Linked DNA regions of Homo sapiens: region 1 is linked to region 2. The links are contacts of gene promoters, found by promoter capture Hi-C in human tissues and cell types (Jung and others, 2019). All regions are on one chromosome and are shown on one strand. Each heading gives the region's core, a stretch centred on a gene start or on the middle of the fragment in contact. The rest is flanking DNA. Distances are from core to core; before and after follow the strand shown. Region 1 overlaps SCFD2 (sec1 family domain containing 2). Region 2 holds the start of ERVMER34-1 (endogenous retrovirus group MER34 member 1, envelope).

Evidence for each region. Contacts are between HindIII fragments. The study calls those that stand out against the background at their distance.
Region 1: a fragment that was not itself captured here is called in contact with the fragment with the promoter of ERVMER34-1 in region 2 in 4 of the 25 tissues and cell types used here (H1 embryonic stem cells, mesenchymal stem cells, mesendoderm cells and 1 more).

The regions. Positions count from the first base shown.
Region 1 is chr4:52,888,980-52,894,325 of GRCh38, reverse strand. All of the region lies in intron 7 of SCFD2 (sec1 family domain containing 2), which reads left to right. Among named protein-coding and RNA genes, the nearest start is that of RASL11B, 29 kb to the right of the region's middle. The HindIII fragment of the contact is 5,036 bases long and covers 728-5,346 here.
Region 2 is chr4:52,748,772-52,754,710 of GRCh38, reverse strand. It overlaps ERVMER34-1 (endogenous retrovirus group MER34 member 1, envelope), which reads left to right and starts at 3,286. Exons shown (of 3, transcript NM_001242690.2): 1 at 3,286-3,368; 2 at 3,642-3,781. LOC107986281 (a long non-coding RNA gene) reads right to left here and starts at 3,744. Exons shown (of 2, transcript XR_001741691.2): 1 at 3,288-3,744; 2 at 1,154-2,677. The HindIII fragment of the contact is 17,697 bases long and covers 1-5,939 here.

The DNA.
Region 1 (5,346 bases), core at 1,996-4,495, 140 kb before region 2:
AAAATTGACATGAGAAGGGTGGGTTTTTATCTAATGAAACTGCATGAGGCCCTTTTACCTCCTTTTATGTGTGCTTTTTAAGAAGTTCTTTTTTTGTTCTTTCATTTCTTATGTGGCCATGCTTAATTGGAAAACAATTTTAAAACTATGAAAAAGACTCACAGAAAGCCCAGTGCTTACCTCTGGGTCCCTTGTTTGAGTGGATATGAGTCCCCCATTGCCTTAAGTGGCAACAAAAAGAGGACCACAAAGAGAACTAGAGCAAGGTAGTTTCAAAGCTCAGGTAGGCTTTGAAAAGCTGCTGGTGGTGAGGGGGTAAGTTAAAAGTCTTTCCATTGGAAGTAAGATGCCAACAAATTGCAATAACTTAAAGAAAGGAAAATTTATTATGAGGCCCATGGGATGTCCTGGGGAGCCCAAGGACAGCAATGAGAGAGGCCTCAGTAAGGATTGAGACTAAGAACTGGAAAGCCATCAGGAAACCAGGCAGTTCTGTGAGACCCATTCTGCCCTGCATGAGAACAGCGCCCTGCATTTTGTAGATGCTCAATAAATAGTATAAATGAATGGTTGAGTAGCTATTGCCACAGCTTTGACTGAACCTTATCTATCTTAGGTCAAGCCTGAATTCCCAGGGAAGGGCCTCTAGTTGGCCCACCCTGGGTCAGGGGGCCATTCCAGGACCAATCAACTGTGGCTGAAGGACAGGGTCACATTGTAACTGCATGGATGCTAGGAGCCTTTCCTATGACCATGTGGGCAGGGGAGATTGTTGGCTTGTGGATTGGACAGATACCTGCAGAGGAATATACAGCAGGGGTAAAGGATGCTTTGGAATGCAGAGCAAAAATGATGGGCTGTCAGTAAAGACTGATGTCAGGTCCTTGGATGGTGAGAGCTGAACATGCCTTGGAGGTCATCTAGTCCCATTCCACATTGTTCATATAAGAAAAACAAGACAGGGTGCAGTAGTGCTCCTGTAATTCCGGCTGCTGGGGAGGCTGAGGCAGGAGGATCGCTTGAGCCCAGGAGTTTGAAACTAGCTTGGGCAACATAGCAAGATGAAAGAAAGAAAGAGAGAGAGAGAGAGAAAGAAGGGAAAGAAAAGAAAGAAAGGGAGAGGAGAGGAGAGAAGAAAAAGCAAGATTCAGAGGGTTGAACTATTGGATTAGGTCCATTGGACTTAAGGGCATTTCCGACAAGAGGAAAATATCTCAGTGTTCACGTTTGTTGATTAAATGAGTACAAGTCCTGGAATTCCTCTTTGCAACACTATTTGAAACCATTGTTTATATTTTCTTTTTCTTAATCATACTCCATGCTATGAAATAGGGTTCAGTATTTGCATAACATTAGCTAAACATGATCCATAAGTTCAAGTGAGATAGATTTTGGTATGAACTGTAAAGCAAAAACACAAACTTGATTTTGGCAGTCTGCGTATTGCATCTGACAGTGTGCAGTGATGGAGAGGCTCTTTTGTATGCTAGTCATTGTTGCGGTTAAGGAAGATATAGAGACAAACCAGGTTCCCTACCTGCCAAAGCACAGCTATATCATGTAGCTTACAGTTTGTTAAGGAGATGGATAAGAAAATTGAGGATTGCAGAGAGGAGAGATAAGTGGTGTGGTGGATGGGATGTGAGGACACAGAGGAGTAGCTCAGTCAGGGAGTCAGAGAAAGCTTCCCAGGGGAGTTGGATTTTGCCAGACCAGCAGGAGTTAGGAACTCCAAAGTAATGAAATGCCATCATATATTGAGGTGAGTGAAGGCAATTCCAAATGGCTGGAGCTAAGGGTGACCTGCAGGGAGTAGAAGAATAGGAAGACAGAGATAAGCAGACACTAGATCCCAGAGGGCTGGAGTTTTGACATTTGACCAGAAACACTGAAGTGCCATTGGATGTTTGCTAGGAATATATAACCAGTTTACATTTTATGAAGTTCACCCTGGCAGCAGTGCACAAGACAGAAACAAGAGCAGACTGGCTTGGGGAGGGAAGGTGAGAAGATGAAAGTCTAAGGTCAAGTAGGGCCAAGGGGACAAGGGGGCAGGGATGAAGTCTGGTGGATTCCACCGGACGGGGATTGAGGGGATGCAGCCGTAAATGAGTGGAGGCTGTCTAGGGCCATTTGCTTAGTTTGGAGTGACTGAATGGACAGTGTTAACATTGTTTCTATTGGGAAGCAGAACTGGAAAAGAAGAAAACTTGCACTTCAGACTTGTTGAATTTAGGAGCCTGAGAGACAGCCTTATAGCTCAGCAGAGCTTGGGCCAGTGGTAGCAATCTGGGGACACTGGCATGTGTGAGGCATTGAACTATGGACAGGGCCAGGGCCACCAAGGGAGGATGTTTGGGAGAAGATCAGGGGCCAGAGGCCAGAGCAGTCAGGAACACAGCTTGTCATGGAGCAAGTTGAGCAAGAGGAGCCCTCCAAGGAGGGAGAGAAGCTAAGAGGGCTTAGAAAGTGGAGGGCAGGGGGGACATTTCAGGAAAAAGGAAGTCATCAACTGCAGCAGATGAGAGGTCAAGCTGAATAGCCGACAGGCTCTAGCAGCATGGAAACCTTTTGCAATGGGATTAAGTGTAAGTAAAAGTAAGTCCCACAAGGCTCTGGTGATTGGCTGATATTTCTAAAGAACTAAAAATACAGAGTTTTCAGAGATGAATGCTAATAAAAATGCTTTTCGTTTGAAGAATTTGTTGGGAAAAGGCGGTATGTGGAATGAAAGGTAGAACGGTTACTGCTCTGCAGTGAGATGGTCTTTGATTTCAACCTCAACCCTACAGCTTACTAGTTCAGCCGCTTTGGACAAATTATTTCACCTCGTTAAGCCTCTGTGTCTCTGTGTGAAATGGGGCTTCTGCCTGCTTCATAGATTCTAAGGCTTGCATAAAGTGATGCTTGTCACTTACCCTCCCCCACCTGATTTTCCTCCATAGCACTCACCACCTTCCTTACTTACCCACTGACTTACTGATTTTATTGACTGTCACTCTCCCTCCACTAAAACATAAGCTCTGTGACAGCAGGGGTTCTTTTCTCTTTGGTTCACTGATGAATCTCTGATGCTTAGAATGGTGTCTGGCCCCACAGTAGTTGGTCAATAAATATTTGTTGAATGGATGAATAAATGAATGAAACATGAGATGTGAAGTGTTCGGAGGGAGTGGCAGTGCTGTTACTAATTCTTGGTGGGAGAAAAGCCATTACCAAGGCCCAACTTCAGTGTCAACCTGGGTGCTTCCTAGGCTTAGTACCCCTTAAGGCCAAAGCTCCTATTGAACTGTCTTCCTTCTACAAGGCCCTGCCCATAGCTGGAGAATGACCTGCCCCTTGCCTGTTGTAGGGACAAATGAGTCACAAATAAAGAGAAACTGAGTGGAGGAGCACCATGTGGAGGAGGAATCAGGATCCCAAACTCTTAGAGGGCGCCTAGAAACTGGAAGCAGCAGCAGAAACCCTTCTTTTGACAACCCCAGTGATAGACGACAATCAACACATCAAAGAGCTCTCTCAGGGGCGCACACCTCAAAAGGGGTCTCAGCAACCTCTGCTGCAAAGGTTGGGATGGAATAGTGGAAGGAAACTGTCTTCTCTCACCAGAACTGATGTCTTAAAATCACAGCCAGCAAAGATTTAGAAAATGAAAGAAAGAACAGTGACTCGGACTTGCTTTATTAATCTGTGCATTTGCAATTGCAGTAGTTATGCTTCAGTCTTTCATCTTCAAAGTGCCTTATACCATGAACTAACATGCAAACATGCAAACAGGACTCAGTCATGTATGGCTGATTATAAGGAATGTGTTATTCTGATGGAAAAGGCTGAAAAGACTCCACTTCCCAACAGTCTGTTGACTTGAACGGCTCCACAAGAAAAGTCTGGTATCAAAACATGAATCTAAACAGAAACCAAAATAGCAAACACCAACATGCATTAATTGGACCCATTTATTTGTACCAAAACCAACATTCCCCCACTCCTTAGCCCCAGGGTATTGTTCTTTGTTGTTGCAGTTTGTTTCTTTTTTTCCCTTTTCATCTGTCAATACATCCTTCCAAGATTCTCCCAATGTACTTTGGATTCCAGACTCTCTTATAGAAAGCATATGTCTTTGGGAACATATTGCACCACGTTCAAGTTCTGGAGCCAATTTATTTCTGTCCCAGGATTAACTGAGAAACAACAATTGTTTGTAGGGCTGGAAGGAAGGTCTGGGTTACTTACTCAGCCAGAAGAACTATGCATAAAGCAAAGGGAGAGTTTCTAAGAAAAGAAGGGCCTTTCCTGTTAACCTGTGGATATGATTCATTCCTTCATATGACTATTTCATTCATGCAACATTTACTGAAAGCTTACCAGGTGCTAAGTACTAAGCACAAACAGGCCAAAACCCACTGGTGTGGTCCACACCATGTCCATAGGTTACAGGCTTTTCTTACTGATATGGAAAATCCCCAAGGTGTATGGTTGAGTAAGTATAAGGTAGAGTGTTAGAGTTCAAGATGATGATTGCCTGTGGGGAGGTAGTGACAGGAGTAGGTTATGAGAGGGTCTCTTCAGGGTGCTGGTTTTCTGTTTCTTGGTCTGGGTACTGGTTACACTGGTTTGTTTACTTTAAAATTAATGGAGCAGCACACTGGTGATATGCATACACTCAGTAAATTATCATATGTTTAACAGATATTCCAAAAAATAAACACCAGGTGTTCAGGTATGGCACAAGCCACTGTGAATGGTTCCAGCAAATAATGTGTGTGGAGGAGATGAAAATAGAGTCATAAACCAGAGCCAAGTTGTAAAAGCCTTATATGCTGAAATACAGAGTTCGAACTTTATCCTAAGAGCTATGAGACTCTATGCAGATAATCTGAGTGTGTGATGGAGCTGAGAGGTGTTTTAAGAGTGTGGCCTCTGGCGTTTTGCTCCTGGATCCATTACTGTGCATGAACCTCAATCTCTGCATTTGCAAAATACACTAATAATTGTGTTTGCTTTCTAAGGATATTTTGAGAATTAAATAAGATAATACACAAAAATAGTTAGTACAATGTTTGCTATTTTCAATAATAAATATTTGTATTTTAGAAAACATACTTGGCAGAAATGAGGAGAATGGATGGGGTATGGCCAAACTGCGGATGGGGAGACAAACTTGAAGGCTATAGCAGCGATCTAATGTGGAAGTAATCAAGGAGATGTTGATAACCTTAAGTAGGTAGAATGAATAGAACGTCATCTGGGAGATGAAAGAGACAGCAAAGTCTAAGATGTCTCTCATGTGCCTGGCTCAGGTGACTTTGAAGGTGGTGATGCTGTTAGAAATTCAAGAGAAGGAAG
Region 2 (5,939 bases), core at 2,037-4,536:
GCATGGTGATGCGCACCTGTAATCCCAGCTACTCAGGAGGCTGAGGCTGGAGAATCGCTTAAACCCGGGAGGAGGAGGTTGCAGTGAGCAGACATTACAGCACTGCTCTCCAGCCTGGGCAACAGAGCGAGACTCCGTCTCAAAAAAAAAAAAAAAAAAATTTAGAGATGGGATCTTGCTCTGTCACCGAGGCATGCAGTGGTACTATCATAGCTCACTGCCTCTCACCTCAGCGTCCTGAGTAGCTGAGACTACAGGCACATGCCACCACAATAGGCTAATTTTTCTCAGGCTGGTCTTGAACTCCTGGCCTCAAGTGATCCTCCTACATCGGTCTCCCAAACACTGAAATTACTGGTATGTGCCACCACACTCTGCCTAAAATGAGGAATTTAATCTTGCCTATTGGGTACAGTAGCTGGAAAAATTAAATGAGATAATCTATACAGAGCAGTTAAAGGAGTGCAAAGAATGAAATAAGTGTGCAATAATGGTTAGCTATTATTAGCTGTGAACATGCTGGCCTGAACACATGCTGGTCTTGCAAACATCAACTTTTATTGACATGCATTTATACAACACATTATTAATGAGCATCATTTATGGACATTTTAAACATGGTCTACAAAGTCCAGCATGGTCTGGCAGTCACCAGCATCTCCAGCCACATCCCCTCTGTAGCCCAGATTATATCATGCCTTATCCTATATCTCTCTCCACCCCACCTCACCCCTTGGCTTTTTGTGTAGAAAGTCATGGCAGCCTTTCTACATGTCCATGGATACAGTGAGCTCCTTCCTAGAGCACACACACTGTACATCCTCTTTCCTCTACCTATACCCCAAGCTCCACTCTTTTGCTTTATAAAATGATCTTCAATTTTGTGCTTAATCATCCTTCCCTCAAACTGACAGCTAGGTCCCTGACACCACCACTCCAGCTCTTAAGTGGTAATTTTACATTTATACAGGATTCGTGTATCAATGCCTGTTCCATATACTATACTAAAAGTTCCACAAGGGCAAGGTCCTTGATTTGGGGTTTTATTCACTATTTTCTCTCAGGTCTACTACAGTGCTTGACTATGGTAGGTTCTCATTAGTTTTATAAATGAATAAACATAACCCAACAACAAGGCTATTGCTCCCAAGAATTGAGTATATCTTTCATTTTATTTCACAATCACTATTCTCCTCATCTCTGGCCTTACTCAATCTTACAGTGAAAAACATAGACACTGTACTAGGTAAAAGTAGCTTGGGGTAAAATAAAATGTGAATTTAATAGGTAGAGAAAGGGAGAAGGAGAAAAAGTCAAGTTACTTAAACATAGAAATGGGTTGGTGACCAGTGTTATGAATGTAAAAGTGTCTAAAGACATATGCAGAAAGGATTCTTCTAAGAGTATTGCTTTCTTTTGCGTAGTTGAGAATAATGTTATTTCAGTGGATGGATATGTTCATCACACTGTAATGCATGTAAAAACAACGTGTAAAGAAACATCAATAAAAGGACATCTCAAAGAGTGCTACTTGGAAAAAAAAAGAAAAAAGAAAAAGATATGGGGTAGTGAGTCAACATTAGCAAGGGGTAGTATAAACAGTGTTTAAACCCATGTCTTGAGCCAGGCAAAAGAGCAAGTGACAGAGAGAGGACCTCAATGAAGAAAGAGGAGACAAAAAATAATGGCCTGGGGAGAGCTTAGACCCGTGGGGCTGGCAGAGCCCAGACCAGAGGCGTGGGAGCCGCGCTGCTGGTGCTGGGGGTGCTCCAGCCGGCAGAACAGTGGGAAGGGAAAAGCAGTGGGCCCATTTAGAGGTTGAAAGAGGCAGGGACTGAGAAGCTCCAGGGTTTGAGGACCACTCCCCCATCCATACAACAGTTAGTATCCCAACTGCGGACCATATGTCCCACGCCCCAGAGCGATGGCCCTTGTGGTTTTTTTTTTGTTTGTTTGTTTGTTTGTTTGTTTTTGAGACAGAGTTTGGCTCTTGTTGCCCGCTGGAGTGCAATAGCGCAGTCTCGGTTCACCGCAACCTCTGCCTCAAGCGATTTTCCTGCTTCAGCCTCCCAAGTAGCTGGCATTACAGGCATGCGCCACTATAACCGGTTAATTGTGTATTTTTAGTATAGACGGGGTTTCTCCATGTTGGTCAGGCTGGTCTCGAACTCCCGATCTCAGATGATCTGCCCGCCTCGGCCTCCCAAAGTGCTGGGATTACAGGAGTGAGCCACCGCGCCCGGCCGCCCCTTGTCTCTTTAGGTCTCTTCTGCTTTATCAAACATGGACACAAAAAGGGTGCTCCTCAGGCGTACAGGCGCCGCCAACCAGCCACTGCTTCTGGTAAAGAGTCTTTCATCGCATTTAGTCATTTCTACAGTAAAACGTATTTTCCAAAGAGTACAGAACACCAGTCATGATGAGTTTTGTTTCTTTGTTTCTTAGAATCAGGGGTTTCATTCGTCCACAGAGAAAGATGATTTCCTATTTTTGTATTTTCAAGTTGTAACACATGTTTTTTCCCTTAGCTCTTATAACGTTAATATTTTTATATTTCATTATGGGTTTTTATTCTTCATTAAAAATGTCAGTCCAAGGGAGGCCTTTGTTTCGTCCATTTAAGGATTAGAAGATTGCCTGGCACAGAGTACACACCTGATGAAGGCGTGCTGAATACCTAAGTGAATAAAAACGCGGCATAAATAGCAGCTCAGGGCTCTAGGCGGTCGCGTGACTGAGAGCCTAGGCGCCAAGGGGAGGAGAGGGTAATCGCGAAGTCTCCCCAGGGGAGAAACCGAGGGGCTGAGAGAACCAGATCGACGAGGGCCAAGGCCCAGCAGGATGCCTGAAGAAGCCGATTCTCCTGCCCAGGGTACCTGAGGTTCGAAGGATGCTTCGTGCAGGCTCGCCTTGTGTCTCACCCGCCAGACCTAGGAAGCCAGACCTAGGCAGGCAGTGGACACAGGTGGCCAATGGCTGGGCCCGTCCAGCCCCCGTCCTGCCCTCGTCCCGAAGTTTCCTGGGATTGGCTGCCTGCCCCGCGGCCCTCCTCCCAGCCCCGCCCTCGCCCAGAGTCTTCCCTGCGCCGAAAGCGCAGGTATGTTCCTAGTCTTGAGCGGGAGAAAATCACCCAGCTCGGAGCACCTGGCCAGTGGGACCGGTGGGTTCCTGGTGCCTGAATCCGGCTGTCCGCTCTGCGGTGCCCCGCCCCGCCCCAACCCAGGATCTTCCCAGCCCCGCTCCGCCCCAACCCAGGATCTTCCCAGCCCTCGTGTGTCCCCGCTCACTTCAGTTCCCGCCGCGAGCCTTCTTCTTGGTCTTCTGGCCTGGCGGCGATCGTCGGCCAGTTTATCCCTCGGAGTTGCACTGTGAGTGCGTTTCTGCCCTTTGGTCTCCGGCGGGGAGGGCTCCCAGGCAGGGTCTGGGCTCGCCCCGTGTCCCCTCGAGCTTTGCCCGCCCCGAGCTCCTCTGCTGCCCGCGGCCAGAACGGAGGGGTAAAGCAGCCCTCGGCGGCCCAGGGGGCGGACGGCCGTGCCCGTCCCAGGGCCGCGCGAGGCACAGGCGCTGCGTCCTGCGGAGCCGCTGGGAGAATCCCGGGGCAGGTCCCGGCGCGGTAACAAGTTTGCGCTTTGCCTCCCTAGGGCAGACACGCCGCTACTTTGTAGCGGGTTTCGGGCGGGCCACGCGTGCGGCGACAGGAACCCAACCCCGGCCGACCTTGGGCTCCAGGAATTCGTTGTCTACGTCTGCGGAGGTGCGGCAGCCTCAGTTTTAAGCGCAGGTATGTTCCTACCCTTGAGCGGGAGGAAATTACCCAGCCCTGAGCACGTGGCCAGTGGGACCGGAGGGTTCCTGGTGTCTGAATCCTGCTCGCTTAACAGGAAGGCAATAGAGGCTGTGCTCTGAACCTTTCCCTCACGATGATCTTCTGCCTGTTGACCATCCTGGTGTCTTTCCCATGTGGCCCTGTATGGTTGGCATGGTTCCTGTCTTTAGGACTTGTGAGTATAACGCTTTATTTTTTCCTGAGCTTCTCCTATGTCTCCCCTTTGTGAGCACAGTGGCCAAAGAAGTCCATTTGGTCCCATGTCTAATCCATCGCATAACTGCTTGGCCCCCTTTGGTAGCCATGTCTGTTTTAGGTTGTGGGGCATTTGCCCGACAATGAACGTGAGTCAGAGATAAGAGGAGGGTCGCAAGCTGGGTGGAGGAGAGACAGGGAGTCCATTTTTGCCTGCCCATTTAGCAGCTTTCTCAGCCCTACAATTCCATAAAGATACTCTATCAGTTTCCTAAGTGTTGCGCAATGAACAATAATAATTTATGTAGGAAAATAAATAGACTGTAATAGGATAACAATTATATGCCCATTGGTGATGGGAGTATATGCTGAGGTCGAGAATCTATGGGGGGGTAGGGCGCAGTGGCTCACTCCGGTGATCCCATCACTTTGGGAGGCCGAGGTGGGCGGATTGCCTGAGGTCAGGAGTTCGAGACCTACCTGGCCAACATGGTGAAACCCCATCTCTACTAAAAATTCAAAAATTAGCCAGGCGTGGTGGTGCATGCCTGTAATTCCAGCTAGCCGGGAGGCTGAGGCAGGAGAATTGCTTGAACCTGGGATGTAGAGGTTGTGGTGAGCGGAGATCGCACCACTGCACTCCAGCCCGAGCAACAGAGTGAGATTCCATCTCAATTAATAATAATAATAAGAAGAATTCCGTCTCAAATCATCATCATCATCATCTATGGGGTTTCCAAACTGCCAAGGACATGGCAGAGTCCCAGGGTATACCTAGTCAGTGTAAGTAGTGTACGTTTTCTCTTTCACCAGTGTACAAGCTCACTATGTCATAGCTGGTTATTATCTTTCTGAGAATTTTGTTTATAAGAGTTGTCACAGGATAGAGTAAGTCTGTTTTTGTTTGTTTGTTTAAGACAGAGCCTCGCTCTGTTGCCCAGGCTGCCATCTCGGCTCACTGCAACCTCCACCTCCTGGGTTCAAGTGATCCCCCGAGTAGCTGGGAAGACATGCACAAGCCACCACGCTGGCTAATTTTTGTATTTTTTAGTAGAGATGGGATTTCACCATGTTGGCCAGGCTGGTCTCAAACTCCTGACGTCAGGTGATCTGCCCTACCTCGGCCTCCCAAAGTGCTGGGATTACAGGTGTGAGCCACCACACCCGGCCCAGAGTAAGTGTGGATGGCTCAAGGAGTATCTTAAGAGGTCTTCTTGTGGTTTAGAAGCCAACTCTGTGACTGTAAGGCAATCATGTGATGTGGAGTGGGGTTCTCCATCAGGGAGAGGTACAGGTTTAGAGCATTACAGAGTTGCAAGATGAGGAGGGGTTGGTCTGTCAAGTAGAAAGGCACTCTTTTATGGAACTGTAAGAGTTGACACAGAATGGGAAACAAAGGTAAATAAGAGAACCTATTGTAAGGTTAATGGCTTTGTCAATTAGGATGGCAGCTGAGGTCACTACATAGGCATAGGAGCATGCCTGATACCACGGGATCCAACTGACATGAAAAATATGCTATGAGGCCGGGCATGGTGGCTCACACCTATAATACTAGCACTTTGGGATGCCAAGATGAGAGGATCACTTGAGCTTAGAAGTTTGAGACCACCCTGGGCAACATGGCCAGACCTTGTCCCTATTAAAAATAATTTTTTTTAAAAAAGGAAGCCAGGTATGGTGGTGCATGCCTGTAGTCCCAGCTACAGGGGAGACTGAGGTGGGAGGATCTCTTGAGCCCAGGTGTTCGATGCTGCAGTGAGCCATGCTTGCACCACTGCATTCCAGCTTGGGCAACAGAGTGAGACCCTGTTTCTAAGGAAAAAAAAGAAAAAAAAATATGCTATGCAACTTACCTGAGAGGAAGAAAGTTGTCCTAGAATACCTACAGCTATCTCATTGTTTTCACAGCAATATA